3 separate regions of the Homo sapiens genome follow, and all the other regions are linked to region 2. The links are contacts of gene promoters, found by promoter capture Hi-C in blood cells and fetal thymus (Javierre and others, 2016). All regions are on one chromosome and are shown on one strand. The core of a region is centred on a gene start or on the middle of the fragment in contact, and the rest is flanking DNA. Distances in the headings are between cores, read along the strand shown. Region 1 has its middle 4.8 kb from the start of DNAJC22. Region 2 holds the start of FMNL3 (formin like 3). Region 3 overlaps TUBA1C (tubulin alpha 1c).

Region 1 (3,052 bases), core at 38-2,537, 370 kb after region 2:
CCCCAGCAGCACACCTCAGCTGTCACCGTGCGCACTGCCATTTCCTCCATAACTGGAGACAGAGCTGACAGCCAGCTGGGGGGTAGTGGGGAGACGGACACACAGGGAGGGGTGGTGGCTCATCCTCAGAGGGAATCTCACACCTCCACTGACAAAATCATACTGACACATACCTGGTACTGACACACACAGTCACTGACCTCCCACGTGCGATCCACATTCATCAATCCCTGTCATACACGCCATCTCTGAGTGCACAGTCACGCACAATCTCTCAGAGGTCAGGCCGAATCGCCTAGTCTTGAGACCTGCCTAATACCCTTCCTTGACATCTCAGACCTTAAATCACCTAACCCCAGAAGAGGGCTTAGGTCCCCGCCCTTGCTTCCCAGCCAGGGCCAGCTCCAACAACTGGGAGGCCGAGCTCAAGGAAGTCAAGTCCCAGGGTCAAGGCGAAGGACCGGGAGCAGATGGAGCAGTGGGACTGTTAAACGCTTGCCTTAGTCCCCTCCTGCTACTGGCCTCTTTCCCGGCACGTCCACTCGCAGCCCGCCCGGCCCGCCACCCGCCTGTCAGTCGAGTAATGAATGCGCGCTCGGGGCCACGGGCCCCCCTGGAGTCGTTCATCACTGCCAGCACCGCCCACCCCTCTGCCTCCCGCCGGGAGGGCTAAGCGGCCGGGGCTGTAAGAGCCCCTCACCCCGCATCTTGACCACTAATTGTCAGATTGAGATGTTGATTTGTCAGCTGGGAGCTAGCGCCAAAGAATCTGCAGTAAAACCTGGACTCCTTGAACTCCCTCTCGGCTCCCCTCGGGTTCGCCAGGACTTGGAGCCTTTTTTGAGCGGATGCGGATTGGTTGGATTTCACTGAACGGAGCGGGCATAGAAGCGCAGTGTCATTCAAAGCCGGCAGGAGGCGCGCCAGGCTAGAAACCCTTGGTTTCCCTAGGAGGGGTCGCCCTGGGCCTGGTTCCATCTGTACCTGCCGGACCTCTAAGGCTTGGTTCCCAGCTTCCCAGCAGGGGGCGCCCTGGACCCCGGGCCTCCGGTCTCCGCAGCTTTTGTTCCCTCTTCCCCACTGGGAGGCCCCAAGCCGCTAGCCCCAGTTTCCCTTCGGGGAGTGCCCGGGGCCATAATCCCCCACCCTTCGGCCAATGCCTCAGGCCACAGTCCTCCACTGCCCCGCAGGAGGCGCTCCTGCCGCAGGTCCGCCCTCGCCCTGTCCTGGGCGCCTAGGCTGCAGCCGCACCCCGCCCTCTCCCGGGCCGGGCCCAGGAGCTCCCTGGGCGGCCGGCTGAGTGACGGGCGGCCGGTGATTATGCGGAAGGGGGAGCGGGGTGCGCCGCGGGCGGCAGCGCTGACCCTTCACATTTCCGATCCGCTGGGACCCTCATCCATCCGAAGCTGCTCTTTGTCTGGCCGCCTAATTGCCGGCGGACAGGATGGATGGCGGGACCGACAGCCGCGGAATCCCTAATAAAGGCCGCGGCCGCCGGGGAGGGAGTGCAGGAGGGAGGGGGAGCAAGAGGGAAGGGATGGAAGAAGATGGGAGGAAGCACCGGGCAGCGGTCTCTGGCTCCGAGGCGCTGCGCGCGGCGCTCACTGAAGTCCAGCCCGCCTGGGGTGCTAGTTCGGGGTCCAGGTCCGGGTGCGGTGGGTTGGGGCTCGTTAAGTGTCCTGCTCGTCAGAGAAAAGCTGGGGACCCCAAGCAGAAAGAGCATCCTAGGGCCTTCCTCGCTTAGCCGAGCCCTCGAGACTTGGAGCTTAGCACTACCTCCTGGTCTCGGGGCTCTCATCAGTATGCGCCCCTACCTCAACTTCCCGCACCCCACCCGCCTCCTTTCACCTGTGGGTCTCCCAGACCCGGAGTCAATATCCCAGAGGAGAAATGAGGGGTCTGACAGCTCTCTGTGCAGCCGATCCCCACATTTCATTAACTGGAGGCTGGAGCTGGCAAGCGGTGGAGGCAGAGGGGGGCACAAAGGGAGGTGGAGGAGTCAAAGGCTAGGAGCAGCACCTGGCCAGGGGTGGAGGGCTGCCGAAGTAAGTCAGCAACAGCTCTGACCTGGCAGACACCTTGGAAGCAGTCTTTACCCACTCTCTGAGAAGCCAGGAGCTTGTCTTCAGCCCTGTGGACCCTGGTGCGATACTTTGAACTTAAGGTTGCACTGAGTTTTGGTGCCAGAGGCACTGGCTGATGAGTGGGAGCCCTGGGCCTGGCCGTGATGGCAGAGGCAGGAGGGTAGTCTCTGCAAGGAGGCAAACCATGAGCAGGTTCTTGGGCTGGGACGGTTTTCCCAGCTGCAGTCGGAGAACAGCCGGCTTCAGGCTTCCCTTTTGTCCCTTAAGCAAATTTTCCTTGACTCGCTTCGTTTTCCTTTGCCTTCCTTTTTCTCTGCCCTCTCTTCCTCCATCTGGACGGTTGTTCTCTGAAACTAACTTTGGCCATCCTTTAGCCAACAGTTGAGCACCTGTTGGGCATCATGCTTAACAGTGTCAGGGTGGGGGTTGGGGGATACACGGAGCCAAGACCCAACCCTTTTGGCCTCACATACAAAAGGCTCCCGGAAGCCATTCAAATCTCACTGCCCACTCCTGGCCTGCCTCTCTCACTCTTCCACTGCCTTGGGTGCCATTTGTCTCCTCTAGGGAACTGAGAAGGAAGCCAGGAGGTCATAACTCTAATTCCAGGACTATCCCTTACAGGGTGATAATGGACAAGCCATTTCCCCTTTCTGGGCCCCAGTTTTTTTATCTTTAAAATGGGGACAATAGATCTAACTCTAAAGGGTGCTGTGAGGATGCAACGAGAAGTTGCATGTTAAAGCCCTAAAATACAATAAGGACTCAATAATGTTGTTTCCCTTTCCATGCCGTCCCCTGTCCTCTCACGTGGATTCCCTTGTCTTCATACTAGAGGACTGCTACCAGGCAACCCAGGCTGCTTCCAGATCCATGTGATCTTCAATGTGGGAGTTGAAAGCCAGAGTGTGGGAATGAGTAGGGAGAACCACACTGTGACGGGCCCTGAAGGGGAGGAAGGAGAGAGT
Region 2 (2,930 bases), core at 56-2,555:
TCCAAGAGGACACAATGTATATCCTGTTTGTTCGCAGATGTACCTTCAATGCCCAGAATAGTATCTGGCATAGAATAAACTTTCTAAAATAAATATTTGTTGAATAAATGAATTAAAAATCTAGGTGATAACTTCAGGCATGGTTAGATCCAGGTTCTTGGCATGTCATTAGAATTTTGTCCTGTCTCATAGCTTTTCTCTCCTCTGCGCTGGCTTCATTCTCAAGCAGGCTTGATGTGTTACAGGTGATGATAAGACGGCCACCAGCGGCTGCAGGTTTACATTCTAATAATTTTGCAGCCTAAATGGAGAGAGAGTGAGTGCCTCTTTCCTGATTGTTTCAGAGAAAGCCTTGGATATATCATATTGTCTGGGCTTGGGTCAAGTGACAATCCCTAAAACAGTGTCCATGGGTAGAGGAGGAAAATGTTGTGACTGACTGGGCCTGGGTCATGCGGTCCTTTGGAACTGGGGATAAAATTCAGCTCCATTTAGACTGAGAAGAGGGGAGAGGTGGTTTCCTAAAAGAAAAGGGGGTGCTCTCACTGGAAGAAGATGGCGGCTAGACAACAAATTTCCACCGCAAATGTCAACGACCCAGCCGCCGACTGAGCCCAGAACAGCGTTCTTCTCCCGCCTCTCCATTTTCACACGCAGCCAGATGGTTAAGCTTCTCTCCTCCCAAACGTTTTTTCCCCTGCCTCTGTCGGGTAAGGGCTTCCTCATCCCTCAATGCCTGGTCCAACTATGATCTCCCTCACCCCGACTCTTAACAGGTACTATCTCTCTCCCTCTTCTGAGTATCCTGCTTGTTTCTACTTCTCTTGTAGTTAGTTTTGTACGCCATGCCTTGTATAATATTTTACTTACTTGTATACATCATGAGTTCCTTTTGAAAAAGGGTACGGTCCATTCCCGGTGTGTCCACGCCAGCCCCTCACGCCCTCTGGGAACCGCGGTGATTCGATGCCGGCTGAGGCCGCCAGGGAGCGCTCGGCGCCCGGCACGAGGCCGTCAAGGGCGGGAGGCGCTGTGATTGGCAGACGCGGCCGTCAATCGGGCGCAGGTGGGGCGGGCCGGGCCGCCTGTGAGGCCTCTGGGCGGGAGGCGGGGCCTGCATGAATGGGGCGCGCGTCGCGCGGGCTGCAGTCGGCGCTCGCGGGGGAAGCCCGAGTCTCGGCCGGGTGTGGGTGGGAGGAAGCGAGGTTGGCGGGGGAAGGGAAAGAGCGCGGGGGGCGGGGAGGGGCAGCGCCCGGGCGGCGCGCCGAGCGCGGCGAGGCGGCGGGTGTGAGCAAGAGCCGGCCGCCTCCGTCCGCCTTGCTTCGGTGCGGCTGTCCGCTACGCTGCCTCCGCCCTCGCCGCGCGCCCCCGCCAGCGGGACTCCAGGGAACCCCCGGCGCCCTCGACGGGGCCGAGGAGTCGGGACTCGGGGAGCCGGCGCTGAGGGAGGAGCCTGGTCGGAGCCGCGGAGCCGAAAGCTCCGGAGCGTGGAGGTGGGGGGCCGAGGCCCCTGAGGGGGCCCCGCCGCGATGGGCAACCTGGAGAGCGCCGAGGGGGTCCCGGGAGAGCCCCCCTCTGTCCCGTTGTTGCTGCCGCCCGGCAAGATGCCGATGCCTGAGCCCTGTGAGCTGGAGGAAAGGTTCGCCCTGGTGCTGGTGAGAGCTGAGCCCAGCCCCTTCCCCCGCGTACCGCCCCTCAGGTCCCGACGCCCGGGCTGGGACTTTGTGCTGGGCCCCCGTCCCGCCCACCCTTTCAGTCGGGGTCCCGAACGGATCCCGGCCTCCAGTGTCTTCCCAGGAACCTCTGAGCAGCCGCTGGCCGGCCCGGACAGCCCCGTCGGGGATCTCGGGACCGACGCCTCCACCGCTGGACCCTTAGGAGAAGTCCCCAGTTCGGGACCGTCCTAGGAACCAGGCTTCTCCCTCCTTCTTCCTCCCCCTTCTGCTGCCCTTTTCCCGTTTCCCCGCTTCTTCGCCAGGCTCCCCGTCCCTAGCATTCTCAGCCCGGAGCCTCTCGCGGGTGGGGGGAATTCAGAAGCGCGGCCGGCTCGCTCCTCAGCAGGCTTCCCTGAGTGGGGACACCGCCTCTCCTGCGAACATGGAGGCTTCCCAGGGAGTGGGTCCCACTCCCAGCCCAGACCAGATGTTTGGGGGGAGAGGGGGATGGGGAGGCGGCTGGCAGCTCCTGAAGGGGGTGGAATAAAGAGTATGCCATTCTGCTTATTTTCAGAACGGCCTGCAGGCATCCTGCTAAGTTAGAGTGGATTTGCCTGAAAGGCTGAACATGTGGATAAACCATTTCACTGGGGTATTTCTCCAAGTGAAACAATACACAAACCATCCCGCCTCCTCCCCCCCTTTTCACGTTAAGCCATAGTGACTGGTTTGTGTTGTTTAGCCTGTGCTTTTTAGTCTTTCTGTGGGTTTCAAACGGTCTGTATAAATGGGTTTTTAGAGCTGACTTTGGGATTCTTCTTTGGTGTGGGAATTGGACATTGATGTCAGTGGCTCTATGAAGCGAGAGGTTCTGAGCTGGTATCACCGGGAAGGAGCCAGAAAATATGTTTGCGCTGAAAATGAAGTTTTGCAGAGCGAAAACATTGGTAAACCGGGGTTAATCTTTGAGAAATTTGGGGAAATAGTTCTCACTTCCCCAAAGAGTTTTCTAAGAAGCAGTAATAATTCTGGCGTTATTGTTGGTATGGCCGACTCTGCCTTTGCCTCTGCCCATCAGGAGGGATAAGTTGTGGACTTAGCAGCCTTATTGGATTTCATCTGCCTTGGAATAAGGAGATTAGATCTGTTGGCAACAGTGGAGCTGTCTAGAGATCTTGGCCTCTCCGATGGTAGAGAATCTGACATCAGCCCACTGGCACCAGAGCTGGCTCAAAGAGGGTCCACAGTGTTCCAAGGGGAAGTGGTGTCGCTGGC
Region 3 (2,742 bases), core at 20-2,519, 440 kb after region 2:
CTAAAAATACAAAAAAAATTAGCCAGGCATGATGGCGCACACCTGTAGTCCCAGCTACTTGGGAGGCTGAGGGAGGAGAATCACTTGAACTCAGGAGGTGGAGGTTGCAGTGAGCTGAGATCACACCACTGCCCTCCAGCCTGAGTGACAAGATATTCCATCTCAAACAAAAAAAGATAACCATCTTTCAGCAGGCCACTCCTGCTCAGGGACTATAATTTCAAAAGCAAAAATCTTTGAAGACCTAATTCAGCAAAAGTGCCTTGGAAAACCAAAGATGTGTTCATGAACTACTCGGCAAGACCAGACAGTTGCTTTGTAGCCACAGTAGATATGATTCCTTAAACTAAGGCAAAATTCCCCTTTCCAGCTCTGATTCATTCTCTGAATGATTGTGTAACTACTGAGCTCATTCTGGTCCCGCTTTAATCCTATTCTTTAGGAGACAAAAGCTTCTCTCTCCCTCCTTTAAAACCAGCTTAAACCAGCAAACTATAGCCATGACTCATGAAGAAAATGCTGGATAAGCAGCAGTTAGCTGTATTTTAAAAACTGTGGTCAGAGGCAGCTTTTTAACCAAGTGGAAGAATCTAATCTATAGGAAGAACGTTTTTCCTTCACCGTCAAAACATCTCCGGAAGAGGGAAGACCATAATAATAAAGGCTAGAAATGTTACCAAGACTTTACTGATAGGTTAAGAAATTAGTTGTTTCTGGCTCACACCTGTAATCCCAGCACTTTGGGAGGCCAAGGTGAGCAGATCACTTGAGGTCAGGAGTTTGAAATCAGCCTGGCCAACATGGTGAAACTGTCTCTATTAAAAATACAAAAAAAAAAAAAATTATGGTAGAGCACAGTGGCTCATGCCTGTAATCCCAGGACTTTGGGAGACCGAGGTGGGTGGATCATCTGAGGTCAGGAGTTCAAGAACAGCCTGGCCAATATGCTGAAACCCCATCTCTACTAAAAATACAAGAATTAGCCAGGCATGGTGGTGCGCGCCTGTAGTCCCAGCTACTCGGAAGACTGAGGCATGAGAATCACTTGAACCCAAACCCAGGAGGTGGCGGTTGCAGAGATCTCGCCACTGCACTCCAGCCTGGGCAACAGAGGCAAGACTCTGTGTCTGTGTCTGTGTGTGTGTGTCTCTCTCTCATAGATATATATTTATGAGGTGGACCAAGTTAATTTAGAAAGGCCAGAGGGGCCAAAGCAGAATATGGTTAGAAATTACCAAACCCACACCTGCTAAGTAAAATAAGGGAATAAACATAGAATCTGTACACACAGACTTAACAGGAAAACAAAAAGGGTGTTTGGCATTTCATCATAAGTCAGATTAGCCACTTTGGAGACTGGCAGAGCACTAAGTTCTCAAAGGACCTGGTCTCATAAGCCAAGAGATAATAAAAACCCTAATTACTCACAACCTTTGACCTCCTTCCCACCTACACTCCCCATGAAACAATCAAGGTCTCTTAACCACATCAGCAAGCTCAGTATCACCTGGGTCTACTCACCCAGCTCCAGGGGTGTGGGAGAACAGGAGTAGTTTGTTCTAATTAGCCCATGACTATTTACCATTGCATCATGTTTACCTTTTTGAGAAAAAGTCTCGCTCTGTCGCCCAGGCTGGAGTGCAGTGGAAACTCCGCCTTCCAGGTTCAAGCGATTTTCCTGCCTCAGCCTCCCAAGTAGCTGGGATTACAGGTGCCCACCACCATGCCTGCCTTATTTTCGTATTTTTAGTAGAGATGGGGTTTCACCATGTTGGCCAGGCTGGTCTTGAACTCCTGACCTCGGGTGATCTACTCACCTCGGCCTCCCAAAGTGCTGGGATTATAGGCGGGAGCCACCACGCCCGGCATCATGTTTACCTTTAACTGGACTTTGGAAACGCCCAAGCCCCAAAAAGCTGGAGATAACCAGATACCTGATCATGATGGCCCCCAGGCCCAAGGAGATAAAGTATCTGAGAAGATCCACTCATTCTAACAAATGCTTCTTCTGTTTAAATGCCGTTTCTATTTTGCGCCCGCAATTTTTCTTTCATTGCTCAGTCTAAACTGCCTTCTTGAAGCTTAGCAGGCAGTCAGCGGCCACTGACTTACCCTCCACTCTCCCCTGGCCACGTGGGAGAAAGTGAGGCACAGGTGGAGTCAATTGGTCTAGTGTTAACTGGATAAGCAGCTCTTACCTCTCGTTAAAAAACAAGAAAATTTAACCAGTGTTCACCTAAACCAGTCCGCTGCCGCTCTCCTGCTTTTTAAAGGGTCTCACTACTTTGTGAATCCCACTTTTACCAGTATCTTTTTGGTACTGCTTGAAAAGAAGCAATAAGTTGTTACAGTGCGACATATACATGTATTTACATTTGATTTTTATATTTAAATTCATGTACGTATTTTTGAGATAAGGTCTCGCTGGAGTGCAGTGGTGCGATCTGGGCTCACTGCAGCTTCCACCTCCCGGGATCAAAAGATCCTCCCACCCCTGCCTCCCGAGAAGCTGGGACTACAGGCACGCACCACGACGCCCAGATAATTTTTGTATTTTTAGTATAGACGGAGTTTCACCGTGTTGCCCAGGCTGGTCTCGACCTCCTGAGCTCAAGCGGTCCTCCCGCCTCGGACTCCCAAAGTGCTGGGATTACAACCATAAGCCATCGCGCCCGGCCTAAGATAGTTGTTTTCAATACTTCTGGAAGCTTTATAGAAAACACTCAAGTTACGTATAATTTC

Evidence for each region. Contacts are between HindIII fragments. The CHiCAGO score rates a contact against its expected background, and 5 or more counts as called.
Region 1: a fragment that was not itself captured here is called in contact with the fragment with the promoter of FMNL3 in region 2 in 2 of 17 cell types (neutrophils and endothelial precursors); the score reaches 5.4 in neutrophils.
Region 3: a fragment that was not itself captured here is called in contact with the fragment with the promoter of FMNL3 in region 2 in 1 of 17 cell types (endothelial precursors); the score reaches 6.9 in endothelial precursors.

The regions. Positions count from the first base shown.
Region 1 is chr12:49,340,571-49,343,622 of GRCh38, reverse strand. No RefSeq gene overlaps it. Among named protein-coding and RNA genes, the nearest start is that of DNAJC22, 4.8 kb to the left of the region's middle. RefSeq lists an enhancer at 542-1,053 and a silencer at 1,255-1,394. The HindIII fragment of the contact is 8,852 bases long and covers 1-3,052 here.
Region 2 is chr12:49,705,780-49,708,709 of GRCh38, reverse strand. FMNL3 (formin like 3) reads left to right here and starts at 1,305. Exons shown (of 26, transcript NM_175736.5): 1 at 1,305-1,655. The coding sequence starts at 1,530. It overlaps LOC124902929 (a long non-coding RNA gene), which reads right to left and starts at 984. Exons shown (of 3, transcript XR_007063299.1): 1 at 871-984. RefSeq lists an enhancer at 722-871 and a silencer at 892-1,661. The HindIII fragment of the contact is 3,771 bases long and covers 673-2,930 here.
Region 3 is chr12:49,266,503-49,269,244 of GRCh38, reverse strand. The region is part of intron 1 of TUBA1C (tubulin alpha 1c); the gene reads right to left. Among named protein-coding and RNA genes, the nearest start is that of TUBA1C, 2.8 kb to the right of the region's middle. The HindIII fragment of the contact is 1,629 bases long and covers 455-2,083 here.